Linked DNA regions of Homo sapiens: regions 2, 3 and 4 are each linked to region 1. Evidence: promoter capture Hi-C in human tissues and cell types (Jung and others, 2019). All regions are on one chromosome and are shown on one strand. Each heading gives the region's core, a stretch centred on a gene start or on the middle of the fragment in contact. The rest is flanking DNA. Distances are from core to core; before and after follow the strand shown.

Region 1 (3,020 bases), core at 133-2,632:
AGTTATGTAACAGGTCGGTTTCAGCAACAGGCGATGCAAGAAAAAACAAAATACAACCTGCTTCCTGAATGATCTTAATAGCCAGCCAATATGTGCTCCTCCATGGGAGGCAAAAATTCTTCTCTGCCTCAACCTTCCGCTGGCCAGCGCCCCTATGCATGGGGAAAGTCGAACCTACGCTCCGTGACTGTGAAAGGTGGGGTGCCCAGATGGCTGCGACCACAGATGGGAGGTGGGACAGGCGGCCAGACCCACCAATGGGGAGACCGGGCAGGACCCCCGGACCAGGCCAGAGACAGGATTAGGGCAGGTCACCCTGGATACTCCCGGAAAGGGACTGAGGGAAGTCACTCAAGCTCCGGCCTGAGCAAGACCCGGCCCAGGTCGTAGGAGAACTCGAGGCAGAATACCGAGACCTGCGAAAGAGGGACCAGGGCAGGTCACCCTAGCCCGGATGGAATGGAAGAACTCAGATAAGTCAGGGGGCAGGTTACTCCAGGCCAGACTGATTGTGGGACACAAGGCAGGTCAGCCCGGGCCCAGGAGGGGGAGCAAACCCAGCTGGCGTAAAGGAACAGGGTCAGGTTAGCTCGGTCCCGAACGAAGTGGAGGACTCGAGGCAAGTCTGCCCGGCCCAGGAGTTGGGGGCCGAAGGAACTCAGCCAGGTCGCGGCCGGAGCGGGGGACCCGGGGCAGATCAGGCCAGGCCCGGGCAGATTGCAGGACCTGGGGCAGGTAAGCTCAGGCCGAGCCAGAGTAGGGGACCCGGGGCAGATCGCCCCAGGCCCGGCCGCGATGGGGGACTCCGGCCAAACACAGGCCGGGCCCGAGGCGAGTTCGGGGCAGGTCTCAGGCGCCGAGGCCGGGCCCGGGCTTCCGGCACCGCCATGTGCCGCTCACCTGCGCGTCGAGCTGTCCCGCCGCAGCGCCCGCGCCCGCGCCGCCCGGGCCTCCCGCGCCGCCACCGCCCGGGCCGCCGGGGCCGCCGGGGGGCGTCTGCGTCTGGCTAGGAAGAGTAAAGTCGGTGAACTCGAACTCGGAGCCCTGTGTGTCGGCGCCAAGCAGCTCGGCCTCCTCCGTGTCCAGGAAAGTGAGAGTCTGCGAGCTGGGCCCGTACGCCTCCACGCTCATGGTGCCTCCGGGTAGGGCCCTCGGGCCGGTTCCGCGCTGCACTCGAGCCCGCCGCCGCGCTGAGGCCTAGGCCGCAGGCCTCGGGTCGCTGCCGCTGTCGCCCCCGCGCGCCCGGAAAGGACCAAACCGCGCGCCCCGGCGCCAGCCGGACCGAGAGGTAACAGTGCCGAGCCGCCGCCGCTGCCGCCGAGCCCCTCCGCGCCTCAGCTCCCCTCGAAGCCGCCAGCCGCTCGCAGCCTAGAGCAGGAACTGCCGCCACCGCCGCCGTCGCCGTGCGCGTGCGCGAGCCCGACGCCGGCGGAAGCGCGCGCGCTCTTCGCGGGCGCCTGGTGCCCAGCAGGAAGACGGGACGCGCACCGCGCACGCGCAGGGGGTGGGGCTTTCAACCGCCGCTGCGGCGGCAGCTCGAGGACTTGGTCCCGCCCCAACTGCTAATTGGGGACGCCCGGGCGGCTGGCGGTGTGGACTTGGTGGTCTGCACCTGTGGTCGCTGCGACGGTGTTTCGGTTTAATTGAGCGCTAGCCGAATACCCTACATAGGTGGTCTCGGAACGCCCAACTGGAGAGACTGGGCAGGGACGGTGCGCTCCCACTCCTGGCAAAAGCTGCTTGGAACTCAGTTTCCCCATCTGTAAAATGGAGGGTGCCTCGCACATAGTAGATGCTCCCTGTGCATTGGTTTAAAAAGGGAGTGGGGCTCGGCGCGGTGGTCACACCTGTAATCCCAACACTCAGAGGCTGAGGCGGGAGAACTGCTTGAACTCAGGAGTTCGAGACCAGCCTGGGAGACAGAGTGAGACTCCATCTCTACAAAAAATATAAAAATTAGGCCGAGCGCGGTGGCTCACGCCTGTAATCCCAGCACTTTGGGAGGCCGAGGCGGGTGGATCATGACGTCAGGAGATCGAGACCATCCTGGCTAACATGGTGAAACCCCGTCTCCACTAAAAATACAAAAAATTAGCCAGGCGTGGTGGCACGAGCCTGTAGTCCCAGCTACTCAGGAGGCTGAGGCAGGAGAATCGCTTGAACCCAGGAGGCGGAGGTTGCAGTGAGCCAAGATTGTGCCACTGCACACCAGCCTGGGCAACAGAGTGAGACTCTGTCTCAAAAAAAAAAAAAAAAATTAGCTAAGCGTGGTGGTTCGCACCTGTAGTCCCAGCTACTAGGGAGGCTGAGGTGGGAGGATCGCTTGACCCTGGGAAGTTGAGGCTGCAGTAAGCCGAGATTGCACCACTGCACTCCAGCCTGGGTGACAGAGCGAGACCCTGTCTCAAAAATAAGTAAAAATAAATGAATGGGGATAGTCTTACGTACTGGGCCTGGCACTTGGAAATGATGGTTGCTGCTGTTCCTGATGCCTCTGCCACTGTTATTATACCATTACTATTTTTGCTATGATTATTATTTAGTGGACGTATACAGCAAAACAACTGGAAGCACATGGTCTGTGGTGGACTCTAGACCTGACCACTTACCAGCTGTGTGAAATTATACAAGTGACTTAACCTCTCTGAGCCTAGGGTTTCTGTTGCCATTAAGGTGGCATAGGAAGCCTGGGCAAGGTGGCTCTTTCCTGAAATCCCAGCACTTTAGGAGGTAGAGGCAAGAGAATCACTTGAGCTCAGGAGTTTGAGGCTGCGGTGAGCTATGATTGTGCCACTGCACTCCAGCCTGGGTGACAGAGATCCTATGTGTGTGTGTGTATATTAATATATATTTATTTATGTTAATATAAATAGAGTGACTAGTAGCTCATTTATTCCTCTCATACTCTCATGTGATATATGGTTGCTGCTGATATATATGGAGCCCGGTGCGGTGTGTCACGCCTGTAATCCCAGCACTTTCGGAGGCCAAAAGAGCAAGACCTTGTATAAAAATAAATT
Region 2 (3,020 bases), core at 296-2,795, 210 kb before region 1:
ACAAAGATCTAATTTTCTAGTCATAGCAACTAAAAATGCCTAGGAGAAATGACAGCACAGGAGCACTGAATACCTCTAACACCATGTATGGTTTCTACCATTTCCCACGAAAAGGAGCTGGGGCCAGGGCTAGGTGGCTCACTCCTGTAATCCCAGCACTTTGGGAGGCTGAGGCAGGAAGATGGCTTGAGGCCAGGAGTTCAACACTAGCCTGGACAACATGGGGAGGCCCTGTCTCTACATAAAATCTTTAAAAACAAGGAGCCAGGGCTTCTGGAGGAATGGCTGATTCCAAGTCCCAGCAGGTCATGGGGCAGGTAACGCTGGGGTCTTGTGAGACCAGGAAGCAAGGAAGCTTCCAAACCCTAAGGGATGCCTGGTAGCTACAGATGAGACAAGTGAGCATTAAAAAAAAATCCAGTACATATCAAAATCAAAATCTGGGCCAGGTGTGGTGGCTCACGTCTGTAATCCCAGCAATCAGGGAGACCGAGGTAGGAGAACCACTTGAGCACAGAGGCGGAGGTTGCAGTGAGCCGAGATCATGCCATTGCACTCCAGCCTGGCTGACAGTCAGACGATGTTGCAAAAAAAAAAAAAAGTCAAACTCTGTGCTTTCATAATACTAAAACAAATACAGCTCAGGCTTCTGAAAACTGGCCAAGAATCCAGCTCTTGGCAGGGAGTGGTGGCATGCTCTTGTACTCCCAGCTACTACTCAGGAGGCTGAGATGGGAGGATCACTTGAATCCAGGAGTTCAAGACCAGCCTGGCCAACGTAGCGAGACACTGTCTCTACAATAATTAGTAACAATTTTTTTAAAAAAAACCTAGCACTTAACCTGCCTCCCTTGTACAAATGAGTCCCAGGTTATAAAAAGAGGATGAGGAAAAGTTCTGCTTCCGATTCCAGCTGATCAGCTGTGACAGGAGAGAAACAGATAATGATCCCACAGGATCCAAAACCATCAGGTGTAAAACTGATGGGAGCCCAACAAGGGGTAGACAGGAACTCAGTCTACTGCTTGATCTCACATCATCAAGAGAAACCAGCAACACCTACCTCCTGAACAAGAACAAAATGCACCTGTGAAGTCATCGTGCCAAAATCTCAAACCCGAATCTGATCATGCATTCAGGGCACTTCCTGCTATGATGAAACGTTCTCTATCTGCACTGCCTAGTACAGAAGCCATTGGCCTCTGTGGCTATCACACAGCTGAAGTGTGGCAGTGTGGCTGAGGAACTGAGTGTGTAATTTTATTTCATTTTAATTTGTTAATGTAAATAGCCATGTGTGACGAGTGACTATGGTATTGCACAGCACAGCTCTGACACCTTAACCAACACCATGGGGATGTGATCTGCAAAATCCCTACTAGGGAAGAGAATGTCAACTAGAGGACAAACACCCAGAGTTTTCAACAAATAAATCACAAGAACAAAGAAAAGGAGACGGAGTCTACCAACAGATGAATGGATAAAATGGTCTGTGCGCATGGTGGTATATTACTCAGCCAGAGAAAGGAATGAGGTGCTGAAGCATGCTACAATGGAGATAGACCTCAAAAACATGATGTCTCGTCAAAGAAGCCAGACACGAAAAGCCTCATATTGCACGATTCCAATGACATGAAATATCCAGAACAGGCAAATCCACAGACACAAAAAGCAGACTGGGTGTTGCCAGGGACTGGAGGAGAGGGAATGGGGAGTAACTTCTAATGGGTATAGGGTTTCCTTCTGGGTGATGAAAACGTTCTTGAATTATAGTGATGATGGTTGTACAACTCTGTGAAAACGTAAAATCACTACATCAGGCCAGGCATGGTGGCTCACACCTGTGATCCCAGTGCTTTAGGAGGCCAAGGTGGGAGGACTGTTTCAAGTCTGGAGTTTGAGACCAGCAAGGACAACATAGTAAGGCCCCGTCTCTACAAAAAAATTTAAAAATATAGTCAGGTGTGGTGGCATTTGCGTGTGGTTGAAGTTACTCGGGAGGCTGAAGCAGGAGGATCATTTGAGCCCAGGAGTTCAAGGCTGCAGTGAGCTGTGACTGGGCCACTGCACTCCGGTCTGGATGACAGAGGGAGACCATGTCTCCAGAAGAAAAAAAAAAATTACTAAATCAAATGAGTGAATATTATGGTATGTAAATTATAGCTCAATTTCTTAAAGTGCTAATCTGTTTAAAAACAAAAAGAACTGAGCAATGACTTGTGCCTGTAATCTCAGCAACTTGGGAGGCTAAGGCGGGGGGATCACTCAAGCACAGGAGTTTGAGACCAGCCTGCGGCAACACAGTGAGACCATATCTCTTAAAAAAAATGTGTGTGTGTGTGTGTGTGTGTGTGTGTATACACACAAACCCACCTTATAAAATAAAAATAAGCAAGTAAGGCCAGGCATGGTGGCTCATGCCTGTAATACCAGCACTTTGGGAGGCCAAGGCAGGCAGATCACCTGAGGTCAGGAGTTCAAGACCAACATGGCGAAACCCCGTCTCTACTAAATATACAAAAATTAGTGGGGCGCCTGTAATCCCAGCTACTCGGGAGGCTGAGGCAGGAGAATGGCTTGAACCAGGGAGGTGGAGGTTGCAGTGAGACAAGATCACGCCATCGCACTCCAGCCTGGGCAACAAGAGCAAGACTTCGTCTCAAAAAATAAATAAATAAACAAACAAGTAAAACCCAGTATAGGCATACCCTGGAAACCAGGGGTAGGTATCAACACTTAGATGACCCACTAACCTTGGGCAGTACCTTCCACTCTGACAGGTGGGAACAAGACATAGAGTTAAGTAAGATAAAACTCTTGGTAAAAACACCAAATCCCTTTGCAATTCTGTTTCAAACCTGTAGCTCAGCAGTCCCAACCTTTTTAGCCTAAGGGACCAGTTTCGTGGAAGACAATTTTTCCATGGATATGGTGGGGCTAGGGTGGGGATGGTTTCAGGATTGTTCAAGCTCATTACATTTATTGTGCACTTTATTTCTATTATTGTTACATTGTAATAT
Region 3 (3,020 bases), core at 363-2,862, 160 kb after region 1:
GGGCCGGGATGTCTCAGCCAGTTAAGGCCCCACAAGATGCTCAGTGCCAAATGGAAGGTCCCAAGCCCCTAAGGAGCGTTTCTAGGAGTTGATATGGTTTTTCCTCCGGAAAGCAGATGAAGGCAGGAACTGAGGCATGACCAGGGCCTCCCCTCAGCAGCTTGGGATGGGGGAAGGAGGGCACCCCAGGGGAGGCAGACACGTGCCCTCCTCCTCCACCCACCCCAAACCAGGGGCTTCTAAGCCACCTCTCACTGCTCCTGGAGGTCCGTGTGTTACGGACGTTTCGGGTGAGTTTATTTTAAAAACACGCGCGCAGGAGACTTGGAAGGAGGGTGAGTCATATACCACCGACTTTGGGTTCAATGTTGATGAGCTCACATCTGAATGCCTGAAACCGTGGGGCTGGGAGGCAGTAGAGAAGTGAGATGGAGCTGCACAGGGACCCCCTGGAGACCTGGGATTCCACCCGCCAGCCCGTGGGGACTCGGGGGCCAGGCGAGGAAACCACCCCGGGGACGAATTTGCTGCCACCACATGTCAGACGCTTTGCCGGCAGGCTCCCTCGGATGGACTCGCAGCCAGGATCTGCTTTGGGAAGGAGGGAGGGAGGGACCCCTGGGAGGGGGGCTTATCAACGCAGCAGGCCCCTCAAGGGCAGCCCGGGCGAAGGGGGGCACTGGGGTTCTCAGGCAGACGTGCATTCGCCAAGCCCCACTTGGAGACAACATGCGGTCAGGCCAGGGTCCCGGGGGTCTTGGGGGCTACCTCCTGGTCCCGGCCCGGGGCAGCAGGACGGGGGCGCAGGCTATGCCTGCGAAGGACTCCGGGAAGTGCAGGTCCCGCTCCCACTCGTCGGTGTCCGTGTTGTACACCTGTACGATGCCCGTGACGTTGTTGAGACGCCAGTTGTAGCCCCCGACGATGTAGATCTTCCTCTCCAGCAGGCAGCAGCCGGCCTCTGACTGGCCGGCCCGCATGGGGCTCACGCTGGTCCACTGGTCCGTCTCCGGCACATAGTACTCCACAGCCAGCACGTCGAAGCAGCGGTCCACGTGGTCCATGCGGCCCCCGAGGGCATAGATGCGGCCGCCGGCACCCACCATGGCGTGTAGCACGCGGGGTTCGCTCATGGGCGCCTTGAACTCCCACTGGTCGGCCACGGGGTCGTAGCAGTGCAGGGCCTTCTTGTCCTCCACTGAGATCCCGTAGCCACCCGAGATGTAGAGGCGGCCCCCTGAGGCGGCCCCAGCATGGCCCCAGGTACGGCGCTTCAGCGAGCAGGCGTAGCCCCACTCATTGCGCCGGGGGCAGTACCGCTCCACGGAGGCCAGGCTGCCGGCTCGGTTGCGGCCGCCCGTGGCGTACACCATGCCGCACAGCACGTTCAGCTGGAACTGGATGCGGCTTTCCTGCATGGCCTGCAGGCGCAGCCAGCGATTCAGGTGGGGGTCGTAGCGGTAGCAGGCGTCCACTGCGCCCTCGCCGCTGCGGTACTGCAGGTGCTGCCCCCCGGCCACGTACACAAAATTGTCCAGCACGGCCACGCACGTGTGGCTGCAGCCTACCTCCATCTCCGTGAGCTCGCGGAAGTGGCGGGCTCCCGGCTCAGGCAGCTGGTAGACCTTGCTGCTGACCGAGCGGTCGCTGTCGGTGTAGGGCGTGCCGCCGAAGGTGACGAGCGAGGGCACATCCGAGCGCACGGCGGTGCGCGGAGACTGCATCTCGTGCTGCCGGAAGGGCAGCACCTGGTAGTTGAAGGCCTCCAGCAGATACTGGCGGCACAGCACGTCCTCCACCATGATGTCCAGCGTCTGCACGCTGTCCACCAGCTCGGACGACTGCATGAGCGGGAAGCGAATGTGGCAGAGCACGTGGCTGGCGCGCGGCCGCCGGGCCGGGTCATGCTGCAGCCAGCGGACGGCCGCGCGGAACAGGTCGATCTCGGCACAGCTCTGCAGCCGGTTGCTCTGCAGGAAGAAGACCAGGCGCTCCAGTGGCAGGCGCAGGAAATCCTCCTCCTCGGCGATCTGCAGGAAGTGCCGGAAGGTGAAGGCATCCACCGACTCTCGCAGCGAGGCCAGGCTGAAGGTGGTGGCCATCTGGCCGATGTTGAGGCAGGTCTCCACGCTCATGGCCGCCTTCAGGAACTCCTCGCACAGCTCCACCACGGGCAGCATCTGCAAGAACACGGCCGCGCCCAGCACGTCCTGCACGCAGTCCAGGTCCAGTGTCACCTCGGCGCTGTAGGCGAAGTCGATGATGTGCCGCAGGCCACGGGCCGACACGCCCTTCAGCTCGATGACGTCCTGGCTTGCCTCCCGCATGCCGCCGGTGAACATGGCCCTGAAGGGCAGAAACACAACGTGTGGCTGGCAGTGGCTGAGGGGTGTTTTGGCCAGCCAGGAATGATCTGGCCTGGGGAACAGTAGCCTGGGGACACAGAACACAGGGCACAGCCAGCAAGAGGAAAGTAGGCGGAATGCTCATTAAAAACATGCAAAGGGGCCGGGCGCGGTGGCTCATGCCTGTAATCCCAGCACTTTGGGAAGCCCAGGCGGGTGGATCATGAGATCAGGAGATCGAGACCACTGGCACTGCACTCCAGCCTGGGTGACAGAGTGAGACTCAGTCACAAAAACAAACAAACAAACAAACAAACAAAAACATGCAAAGGCCAGGCACAGTGGCTCACGCCTGTAATCCTAGCACTTTGGGAGGCCGAGGTGGGTGGATCACCTGATGTCAGGAGTTCAAGACCAACCTGGAGGTTGCAGTGAGCCGAGATCATGCTGCACTGCAGCCTGGACAATAAGAGTGAGACTCTGTCTCAAACAAACAAAAAAAACATGCAAAAAAAAAAAAAGATTTTGAATCCACCCAAGCCATGCATCTTCCTATAAATAGCAACTCCCTGCTTGGCCCCTCTGCAGAGGACCCTGCCCCTGCCCCTTCATGACTAGATCGTGTTGGAGCTGCAGGAGCGGTGGCCCGGGTCAGCCTCACCCACAATGTGCCTG
Region 4 (3,020 bases), core at 214-2,713, 130 kb before region 1:
TTCGCCCCGCTTCCACCTGATGGGGCAGCCTGGTCCTGCACTGCCCACCCAATAAAGATAGCCCCGCCCCATCAGGCGCATCCTGGACCCAAGTCCACTCCTCCCTATGGGCCGCTGTCTGGTCCCTAGCACCGGCTGACCTTTGCGCCCCGCCTTCTTTCTATACCGTGGATGCAGGAATAGCCTCGTCCCAAAACCTGCCCCTACATGTCCTTGCCGTGTGACCCCGGGAGTATCGTTTCACCTCTGAACCTCAGCTTTCCCCTCTCTACAGTGAGTGGGGGTCGAGCCCCCTCTGTGACTCGATTGATCCACTCCTAGCAGGCTGTTGGATCGACGATCTTTGAGGATGCAGGTTGAGCGCTCAGCATATCACCGGCGCTCAATAAATGGCCTTGTTTCTTCCGTTTGTCTGGAACAGGAGATGCAGAAATAGGCAGTAGTGGCTGGCCATGATGGCTCACACTTGTAATTCCAACACTTTGGGAGGCTGAGGCGGGTGGATCACCTGAGGTCAGGAGTTCGAGACCAGCCTGGCCAACATGGTGAAATCCCGTCTCTACTAAAAATACAAACATTAACAGGGCATGGTTGTGCACGCCTGTAATCCCACCTACTAGGGAGGCCAAGGCAGGAGAATCGCTTGAACTCAGGAGGCGGAGGTTGCAGTGAGCCGAGATGGCGCAACTGCACTCCAGCCTGGGCAACAGTGAGACTCTGTCTCAAAAAAAAAAAAAAAAAGAGCCGGGCGCTGTGGCTCACGCCTGTAATCCCAGCACTTTGGGAGGCCAAGGCGGGCGGATCACGAGGTCAGGAGATCAAGACCATCCTGGCTAACACGGTGAAACCCCGTCTCTACTAAAAATACAAAAACAAAATTAGCCCGGTGTGGTGGCGGGCGCCTGTAGCCCCAGCTACTCGGGAGGCTGAGGCAGGAGAATGGCGTGAACCCGGGAGGCGGAGCTTGCAGTGAGCCGAGATCGCGCCACTGCACTCCAGCTTGGGAGACAGAGCGAGACTCCGTCTCAAAAAAAAAAAAAAAAAAAAATTATGCGGGCATGGTGGTGCATGCCTGTAATCCCAGCTACTCAGGAGGCTGAGGCAGGAGAATCACTTGAACCTGGGAGGCAGAGGTTGCAGTAAGCCGAGATCATGCCATTGCACTCCAGCCTTGTTGACAGAGCGAGACTCCGTCTCAAAAAAAGAGAAAGAAAGAAAAAAAGAAATAGGCAGTAGTTGGAGAGGGCTGGCTGAGGAAGAAGCCAGCAGGTTGGGCAGGGGCAGAAGCCGGCCCTGAACCTCAGTTTTCTTATCTGTAAAAGGGACCTTCAGGCCAGGTACAGTGACTCATGCCTGTAATCCCAGTGGTTTGGGAGGCTGAGGTGGGAAGATAGCTTGAGGCTCCCCTCACTGGACAGCTAGACACACTTCCCTGCTGGACATTCTAAATTAAATTAGCCCCCTAAAAATGTAAGACACAGGCTGAAGGGTGGGGTCCCATCTCTACCTTGCCTTCACTGGCTGCAGGTCTGAGTGCTCATGGATTTTCTTTTTTTTTTTTTTTTTGAGACGGAGTCTTGCTCTGTTGCCCAGACTAGAGTGCAATGGCACGATCTCGGCTCACTGCAACCTCCACCTCCCGGGTTCAAGCGATTCTCCTACCTCAGCCTCCTACGTAGCTGGGATTTCAGGTACGTGCCACCACGCCCGACTAATTTTTTGTATCTTTAGTGGTGATGGGGTTTCACCATGTTGGCCAGGCTGGTCTCAAACCCCTGATCTCAGGATCCATCCACCTCGGCCTCACAAAGTGCTGGGATTACAGGCACGAGCCACCGCGCCCGGACGGTCATGGGTTTTCTTGTCATTGGTGGTGTTTTGAAACAGAGCCTCACTCTGTCACACAGGCTGGAGTGCAGAGGTTGATCACGGCTCACTGCAGCCTTGATCCCAGGCTCAAGTGATTCTCCCACCTTAGTCTCCCAAGTAGCTGGGACTATCGGTGTGCGCCACCACACCCAACTAATTTTTTTATTTTTAGTAGAGATGGGATTTCACTATGATGGCCAGTCTGGTCTCAAACTACCAGGCTCAAGCAATCTGCCCGCCTCAGCCTCCCAAAGTGCTGGGATTACAGGCGTGAGCCTCGGCACCTGGCCCAGACAGTCTTTTATTTATTTATTTTCCGAGACAGGGTCTCACTGTGTCACCCAGGCTGGAGTACAGTGGCACAATCATGGCTCACTGCAGCCTCTAATTCCTGGGCTCAAGCGATCCTCCCACATCAGCCTCCTAAGAAGCTTGGACCACAGGCATGCACCACCATGCCTGGCTAATTTTATTTTATTTTTTGTAGAGATGGGTTTTGCCATGTTGCCCCAGACTGGTCTCAATCTCCTGGGCTCAAGTGATCCCCTGGCCCCAGCCTCCCAAAGTACTGGGATTACAAGCATGAGCCACGGCACCCAGCCAAATTGGGATTTATAAAAACCTTTGTCAAGAGAGTGTAGGCTGGGCACGGTGGCTCACCCTTGTAATCCCAGCACCTTTGAGAGGCCGAGGCAGGTGGATCACTTGAGGTCAGGAGTTCAAGACCAGCCTGATCAACATGGTGAAACCCTGTTACTACTAAAAATACAAAAATTAGCAGGGCATGGTGGCGCATGTCTGTAGCCCCAGCTACTCATGGGGGCTGAGACAGGAGAATCACTTGAACCCAACAGGCAGAGGTTGCAGTGAGCCGAGATTGTGCCCTGCACTCTAGCCTGGGTGACGGAGTGAGAAACTGTCTCAAGAAATTTAAAAAAAGGAGAGTTTAAATGCTGGCCAAGGACCAAGGAAACCAATCAAGGGGCCTCAGGGTTCAAGCTTTATGTTTGGGGACAATCTTAGGCCATAGGATGGGGTGACCTCCCTGCCAGCCTTGTAGCCTACTCACTTGAGGCTCAGCGGTCCCTCCCTCAGACAGGGACCTCCATTCTGTCACCTACGATGACACCTTCTTTTCTTGTGGGATCCAC

The links. The method cuts DNA at HindIII sites, captures the fragments that hold promoters and counts their contacts. A contact is called where the count stands out against the background at its distance.
Region 2: a contact is called between a fragment that was not itself captured here and the fragment with the promoter of UPF1 in region 1, in 2 of the 25 tissues and cell types used here (dorsolateral prefrontal cortex and lymphoblastoid cells).
Region 3: a fragment that was not itself captured here is called in contact with the fragment with the promoter of UPF1 in region 1 in 2 of the 25 tissues and cell types used here (aorta and dorsolateral prefrontal cortex).
Region 4: a fragment that was not itself captured here is called in contact with the fragment with the promoter of UPF1 in region 1 in 1 of the 25 tissues and cell types used here (dorsolateral prefrontal cortex).

What each region holds. Positions count from the first base shown.
Region 1 is chr19:18,830,321-18,833,340 of GRCh38, reverse strand. It overlaps UPF1 (UPF1 RNA helicase and ATPase), which reads right to left and starts at 1,382. Exons shown (of 24, transcript NM_002911.4): 1 at 901-1,382. The coding sequence starts at 1,131. RefSeq lists silencers at 769-848, 859-948, 1,099-1,198, 1,319-1,578. The HindIII fragment of the contact is 23,837 bases long and covers 1-3,020 here.
Region 2 is chr19:19,038,236-19,041,255 of GRCh38, reverse strand. The region is part of intron 2 of ARMC6 (armadillo repeat containing 6); the gene reads right to left. Among named protein-coding and RNA genes, the nearest start is that of ARMC6, 6.1 kb to the right of the region's middle. The HindIII fragment of the contact is 5,677 bases long and covers 1-3,020 here.
Region 3 is chr19:18,666,990-18,670,009 of GRCh38, reverse strand. KLHL26 (kelch like family member 26) reads right to left here. Exons shown (of 3, transcript NM_018316.3): 3 at 1-2,346. The coding sequence ends at 765. Among named protein-coding and RNA genes, the nearest start is that of CRTC1, 15 kb to the left of the region's middle. The HindIII fragment of the contact is 7,470 bases long and covers 1-3,020 here.
Region 4 is chr19:18,958,866-18,961,885 of GRCh38, reverse strand. No RefSeq gene overlaps it. Among named protein-coding and RNA genes, the nearest start is that of HOMER3, 19 kb to the right of the region's middle. The HindIII fragment of the contact is 4,315 bases long and covers 1-3,020 here.